2 separate regions of the Homo sapiens genome follow, and region 2 is linked to region 1. Evidence: promoter capture Hi-C in 16 types of primary human blood cells and fetal thymus (Javierre and others, 2016). All regions are on one chromosome and are shown on one strand. Each heading gives the region's core, a stretch centred on a gene start or on the middle of the fragment in contact. The rest is flanking DNA. Distances are from core to core; before and after follow the strand shown.

Region 1 (3,432 bases), core at 510-3,009:
CCCCACAGCAGGCGCTGCAGCGGTTGCCGCCAGTTCGAGGTGCTCCACCACTGGATCCAGCTCGGGGGCATGTGGCTCACCCACCAGCGCACCCAGCCATGCCTCGTGACCCAGGCTGACCAGGGCACTGCCTGCTGTGGCCCCTCGCCAGCCCCGATGGTATCTGTCTCCACTCGCGGCTGCTGCATCATGTCTGGTGCACCTGGGGAGAGGGCCAGGGTCTTGAAGATGCCTGGGACCTTGGGGGGGGGGGGCAGAGAGGGGGTGCAGGGGTCAGGAGGGCACCAGTGTGCGTGGGGTGGGGCTACAGAATTAGGGACTGGGACTTACCTCTGGGCAGTTACCTAAGTCATGTTGCTTCCTGCAGCGCCCAGGACGGCCTGGCAGGCAGATCCAAGTCCCCACTCTCATCTACCCCCACCCTCCCCAGAGGAGCCCCTTTGTGACCCGGGCTGGGGTGGGGTCCAGCCAAGAGAGGAGTCACTGTAGGGTGTGAGGCCCACCCAAGTCCCTCTGCACGGACCCTCCAGGCTGGCAGGGGAGCCTCGGAGCCCCGCAGATGTAGTTTCTCATGCTTTCTCATGGGAAGCCCTCCCTGGATCCCTGTCCCTTTCCTGCTTTCCCTGCTGGCTGATATCCACCCCTTTCCAAACTGCTCTCTCGCAAGTCTTTCTGTCTGGACCTTCATTCTCTAGAGCCACAGAGGAGGCCAGAGTGGCTGCCCCCAATCCACAGGCTCTGAGGTGGCTGCCACATTCTTCCTTGGGCTCCCTGGCTAGTATCCTACCTTCTCTTGCTGCCCAAAGACTCAGATCCAGGTATCTGATACCTATATTATAGGACTGTGAGGTTCAGGCTGGGAAGAAAGGGGTATCATCCCACCTGCCCAGCCAGGAAGGAGAAAAGGGGGCCTGATGAAGAAGGGTGGTCATTGTATATTTGAAGGACACTGAGTTGTGGGGAGGGGCTCTCAGGCCCAAGGATGGAGGCAGAAAGCCAGGCCAAGCAGGGTCAAGGGCATGCCACAGGCTCTCAGGAGCGGGCCCAGCCCCATGAGCAGCAGCAGCAGTGCGTCCTGGAGGCTAAGTTGTCCTGAGACTGTACCCATTTGCAGGAGTAGAGCCTCCTGCTGTCCAGGACCTTCACCGGCCCCCTGACTCTGGCCCCTGGTGAGAAGTTTGCGCTGTGGCAGAGTGTGACCTGCGGGCCTGTGGAGAGAGAGGGTGGTGACTGGGCTTAGGGAAGTTGTCCACTGGCCCGCCCGCCTACAATGCCCACCTGCCAGGCTGCTGCCCACTTACCTATGGAGCAGGTCAAAGGTGAGGAAGCTGACCAGAAGCAGCAGCAGGGCTGGGCCAGTGGTGGAAAAGACTGCCTGGATTGTCAGTCCTAGTGCCCCCAGCCATAGGACACTGTCCAGGAGCTGGGCCCAGCTAGGGCCCCAGGTGGATACAGGTGGACGCACTGGACTACCTGACCCCTCCCCAGCACCCAGGCCCCTTGGAGGAACTGGGATCGGATCCTCACGTGCTTCGGGTCTGGGTAAGCAGAGCCGGGTCATGGAGAGAGGTGGAGGTGACGGGAAGACCTAGTGCTGAAAAGGATTATAAGGGTGAGAGTAGGGGAAGGGGTAGGGCCCGGGCAGACAGAAGGGTGAGCTCAGAGTGGGGAATTAGGCTCCTGCAGAGTCTCCCCCTCCCCCATACCCACCCAGCAAACCCTCCTCACCTCCTCCCACTTTGGTCAGCATTCTGGGAGTGGGCACCCGGGGCATTGTGACCTGTTACCACGTGGGGCCGTGGGGTAGGGAGGGGGCTGCTGCTGCTGCTGCTCTGACCTCATAAGCAGCTGGTGGCCTAGGTGGGGCTTAGCTGGGAAGTCAGGGATTTCTGAGAACTAAGACTCATCCTCTTGCCTTTGCTGATTCTCTGCCCTAGGGCCCTCCCTTGGGGATCTGAGTTGTCAGGAAGGCATTCTAACCCCATTACTACTTGGGCATCTGTCCAAGGGAGCGAGGTCTGCTTTCTTCTTCCTGTGAGTTTGCAGAGCTGCAGGTCCAGGGCGAAGTCATTCAATATCTCTGTCCCCAGCTGTCTTCCCTGTGGGTCCTTCTAGGGGATTTTTCAGGCCTGAAGTTCCAGATTGCAGAGATGGGCTCTGCCAGGGGACTGCCTGAGGCTTCTGGGGCTGGGCTTCCGCATAACCTGCTAAATGGGGGTGAGAGAGGAGGGGGCTGTTCAGGTATTCTAAGCACTACAGTTTATAGGGGGTGTTATGCATACTGGGGTTCCAGTAATGAGGTAGAGGACATGAACTTAAGAGGACTATGACCTAGTAACCCCCTTATTAGAGGTTAAGGTTACAGTCTGAGAATGGAGTTAAGGAAAATGAACATATAATGAAGGGCTTAGTCACTTGGATTATCAGTATATCAGATTACACTGATCATCTGTAAATGGGTGGTGGCCATAGGGGTCCAGCACATCTCAGTTTAGTGACTTGAGAGGCAAGAGCGGAAATGTGTCATAATTAAGAGAACTTAATCTTTGCCCACATATCATACTTTGAAGGAAAACTGGTAGGGGTGGCAAAATGGGAGACAGTGGCCATACAGCCCCTAGGAGAGGAGGAGACAGAACAAGAATCAGGCTGCATATCCACCTCCAGCAGGCCTTGCCCAGAGACGAGGGTCACCAGCCCTAATGACCATGCACTGATCGCCCTTGGTCTGGCTGTTCTTGCTTATCCAGCAGCTGGGTTTTACGAGTAGATTTGTCCGTAATGGGATAGGGTATAACAGAAGATCCCAGAATTTTTTTTTTTTTGGCATTAAGTTCCAATTGTGCTTGTAAAGGAACATTAAGGTTTAAGATTGGCAATTCCCTGAGCCTGATCAATCCTGGATGCATCCACACAATTGCATTCCTGGACATACAGACCTGGGGAGCATGTCCTGATGAGTCCACCAAGATGAGGCTACTCCATATTGCAGGGCATGGGGGGATCGGAGAGTCTAAAGCTCCTTAAAGATTTACTATGCACCAGGTGCTCTGTATGCATGTATAGGAGAGTTCTGTCTGTGATTTTCTCAGAGTTTATTTTGTATTCAACAATCATTTATTTAAGTGCTTCCTATGTGCCAGGCACTGCACCAGATGGTGGGTGTATTAGGCCATTCTTGCGTTGCTATGAAGAAATACCTGAGACTGGGTAATTTATAAGAAAAGAGGCTTAATTGGCTTGCAGTTTTGCAGGCTGTACAGGAAGTAGGGTACCAGCATCTGCTTTTGGGGAGACCTCAGGAAACTTCCAATCATGGCAGAAGGCAAAGGGTGAAGAGCAAGGGAGAGAGTGGTGGTTAGGGGAGTTGCCACACACTTAAACAACCAGATCTTGAGAGAACTCACTCACTATTTCAAGGACAGCACCAAG
Region 2 (3,432 bases), core at 602-3,101, 180 kb before region 1:
GGCACAGTAGCTCATGCCTGTAATCCCAGCACTCTGGGAGACCAAGGTGGGAGGACTGCTTGAGATCAGGAGTTCAAGACCAGCCTGGGCAACACAACAAGACCCCGTCTCTACAGCGGGGGAAAAAAAGTAAAGAGCTAATAAATATCCAGAAGAAACTACAGGAATTCACTGAGCTGGATCATTACAAATGATAGGAACAATTGTTGATATAGATTTTGGAGACGTTATAACAAGGAAGGGAGAGTATGACTTGGTTAAAGCCAAATTTCTTTTCTTTTTTGAGATGGAGTCTTGTTCTGTCCCCCAGGCTGGAGAGCAGTGGTGCAATCTTGGCTCACTGCAACCTCTGCCTCCCGGGTTCAAGCGATTCTCCTGCCTCAGCCTCCCGAGTAGCTGGGATTACAGGCACTCACCACCATGCCCGGCTAATTTTTGTATTTTTAGTAGAGACAGGGTTTCAGCATGTTGGTCAGGCTGGTCTCAAACTCCTGACCTCAAGTGATCTGCCTGCCTCAGCCTCCCAAAGTTCTGGGATTACAGGCATGAGCCATTGTGCCCAGCCTGGATAAAGCCAAATTTCTAATTATGGTATGGTCAAAAGAACTTCTGCAGGTAGTGTAACAGCTCAGGTAACTGGCCATGGTTTTAATGTTGAGCTAGGCTCGCCAGTGGAAACCTGGACTGAATGCTGGATTTAGTGAGGTGATAATGAAAAGCCAGAAAAACCTGGGCACAAAGTAGAGGAGACCAGAGTGGCATATGGACTCTAAAGGCTCAGCCTTCTACTGACACCTTCAGTATGCCCTTGATGGGATCCACATCACATGCCTTGCTGAGGCTATACACTGGTGAGGAAAGCACTGGAATCTTTCAGAAGTGCTTTCCTGGCTGTCCTCAGCAGCGTGAGATGCTAGTGGAAGGGACTATTTCAAAATGGGATTCCTGATCTAAGTGGGCTAGAAAGACTGTTGGAGACCATGATCAGACGTTTATGGCTGTGAATAATTCATTGTGAAGCTCCCAGTAATGGAAACGGAAAGTAGCTTTCCAGGTCAGTTTAGGCAGCCTACTAGACCACCATGCTAGAGAGGGGGCCCCCTCATCCAACTCGTAGGCCTGGGTCATTTCAGACCCAGAACCCTTCAATAACAGGGAGGCCAGGCATCTGTAAGGAGGAACCCTGCCACAGCGCATTAACACACATATATTATAAACCTCCCTCCTCATCTTTTCTTAATAATCTGCAGATATTTGCCATGGCAACTGTACTAGGTAAAGGGAAATGCATCTTTTGGGGTCTGCTAGGTCCTGGCCTTGAGGTAGCTACTTGCTAGGAACTCAGAATGTCGCTAAGATATGCTAGTTAGAACGGAGCCTTTGCAGGCCAGCTGATGGAAGGAATTTTGGCCTGAGGTGGCTTCACATTAGGACCTATTAATCTATCTAATCTATCTTACCTGTCTGTCGATCTGTCTGTCTGCCTGCCTGCCTGTCTGTCAGGGCCTCCAAAAGGGAGGGAAAGAAACTAGATGCTCCCGGCTCTGTGAAGTTGGCTAGACCTCCCTCTGTGCCACCTTGATTTTCAATAACATTGGCCATTAGGTAATGCCCAAAGACACACAGATTCCCTAGCCCACTGGATAAGAACCATCACAGAAAGAGCAAATGTAAGCTCCTAGAGCAGTGATCTCTTTAGCAAAAGGCGAAGTCTCCATGTGAACCGCAGGATCTTAAGTGCTACAGAAGACTTTGCAGATTTGCAGTTACTTTTCCAGACGTACTCTACTTTCTGCAGATTAACATATAACTCCTGGTACCTAGACTACTGCTAGGGGTAAGTGTGTGTTCTTTTTAAGTTGTGTGGACTACTTGAAGCAGTTTTTCTTGCTCATGGCAAGAGCAGCCTCAGTGATAAATCATCTTGACCTTTCTGTGTTGTGATCTGGTTCATCAAGATTTTGTCTGTTTCACAGGACATTACCTTGACAACTATGCTAATGACATCAATGTGAGACATGAAAAGCAGGAAGTTATGTATCTTAGATGTACATGTCAGACATAAAAATACAGTGGCCTGCCACCTCAGCCAAATTTTCTGAAAGTCAAAGGCCTGCAGCACGTCAGGGTATCTCCTCCAACATAAAAGACAACTTGTTGCCCCTTGCCCCACCACCCCTCTCCTGCTAACAAAGAGGAGCAATGCTTGCTGGGCCATTTTGAGTTTTGGAGACAGCAGATACCTTATCCTTGCATCCAACTCTGATCTCTCAATTTAATCCATCTAATCCATCTGATCAATCAATCAATCTACCTACCTACCTACATAGAGACAAGATCTTGCTCTGTCACACAGGCTGCAGTGCAGTGGTGCAATCACAGCTCACTGCAGCCTCAAACTCCTAGGCTCAAGCAATACCCCACCTCAGCCTCCCCAGTAGCTGGAACTACGGGTGCATACCACCATGCCCAGCTAATTTTTTGAAGAGGCAGGCTTTCGCCATGTTGCCCAGGCTGGTCTTGAGCTCCTGGACTCAAAGCAATCTGCCTGCCTCATCTCCCAAAGTGCGAGGATTAAAGGCATGAGCCACTGTGCCCAGCCTCTGACCAATTTATTGAGTGATCTGAAAAGAGAAAGTGCTCCTGCTGATCCAGGCCACAGAGAAATAAGCTCTGGTAGATTGTATGGAGCTCTAGAGTGTTTGTAGTAAGGTAAACAGAAGAATCGTAATATTTGGATATGGATATAAGACCATGATCCTATTGGTAAGACCATGCTCCTAGCCTAGTACTGGGCTCTAGGGTAGAGACTGCAAGCCTGATCACAGACAGGTATCCAAATGACTTCAACTCCCCATCGTAAACTAGGGGTTTTTTTGTTTGTTTTGTTTTTTTGAGATGGAGTTTCGCTCTTGTCGCCCAGGCTACAGTGCAATGGCGTGGTCTCGGCTCAATGCAACCTCTGCCTCCCGGGTTCAAGCGATTCTCCTGCCTCAACCTCCCGAGTAGCTGGGATTACAGGCATTTGCCACCATGCCTGGCTAATTTTTGTATTTTTAGTAGAGACGGGGTTTCACCATGTTGGCCAGGCTGGTCTTGAACTTCTGACCTCAGGTGATCTGTCCAACTCAGCCTCTCAAAGTGCAGGGATTACAGGCATGAGCCACCGGGCCGGTCTCGTAAACTAGGTATTATGAGATTCAATTAGCCATAGATTTGGACATGCCCAGCAGAATCCCATTATCAGCTGGAAGTGATCTCTATAAAATGCCTACCACACAACCCACTGCCGCAATAGATACTTCTGACTTCCTATTGACATCAACAGTTAACTGAAGAAGAAAAAGTCCGGCCTGGTATATAAACTGCTTGGTGAAACATGCTGGCCCATGCTGGGCTGGAAGTAGACTGCTATGGGGTATACTACTTAAG

Evidence for each region. Contacts are between HindIII fragments. The CHiCAGO score rates a contact against its expected background, and 5 or more counts as called.
Region 2: a fragment that was not itself captured here is called in contact with the fragment with the promoter of C20orf141 in region 1 in 2 of 17 cell types (fetal thymus and naive CD8 T cells); the score reaches 5.4 in fetal thymus.

The regions. Positions count from the first base shown.
Region 1 is chr20:2,813,314-2,816,745 of GRCh38, reverse strand. C20orf141 (chromosome 20 open reading frame 141) reads right to left here and starts at 1,759. Exons shown (of 3, transcript NM_001256538.2): 1 at 1,729-1,759; 2 at 1,302-1,594; 3 at 916-1,208. The coding sequence starts at 1,561. The coding sequence ends at 971. It overlaps TMEM239 (transmembrane protein 239), which reads right to left and starts at 382. Exons shown (of 2, transcript NM_001167670.3): 1 at 331-382; 2 at 1-202. The coding sequence starts at 191. The HindIII fragment of the contact is 5,792 bases long and covers 1-3,432 here.
Region 2 is chr20:2,991,981-2,995,412 of GRCh38, reverse strand. The region is part of intron 9 of PTPRA (protein tyrosine phosphatase receptor type A); the gene reads right to left. Among named protein-coding and RNA genes, the nearest start is that of GNRH2, 50 kb to the left of the region's middle. The HindIII fragment of the contact is 6,476 bases long and covers 1-3,432 here.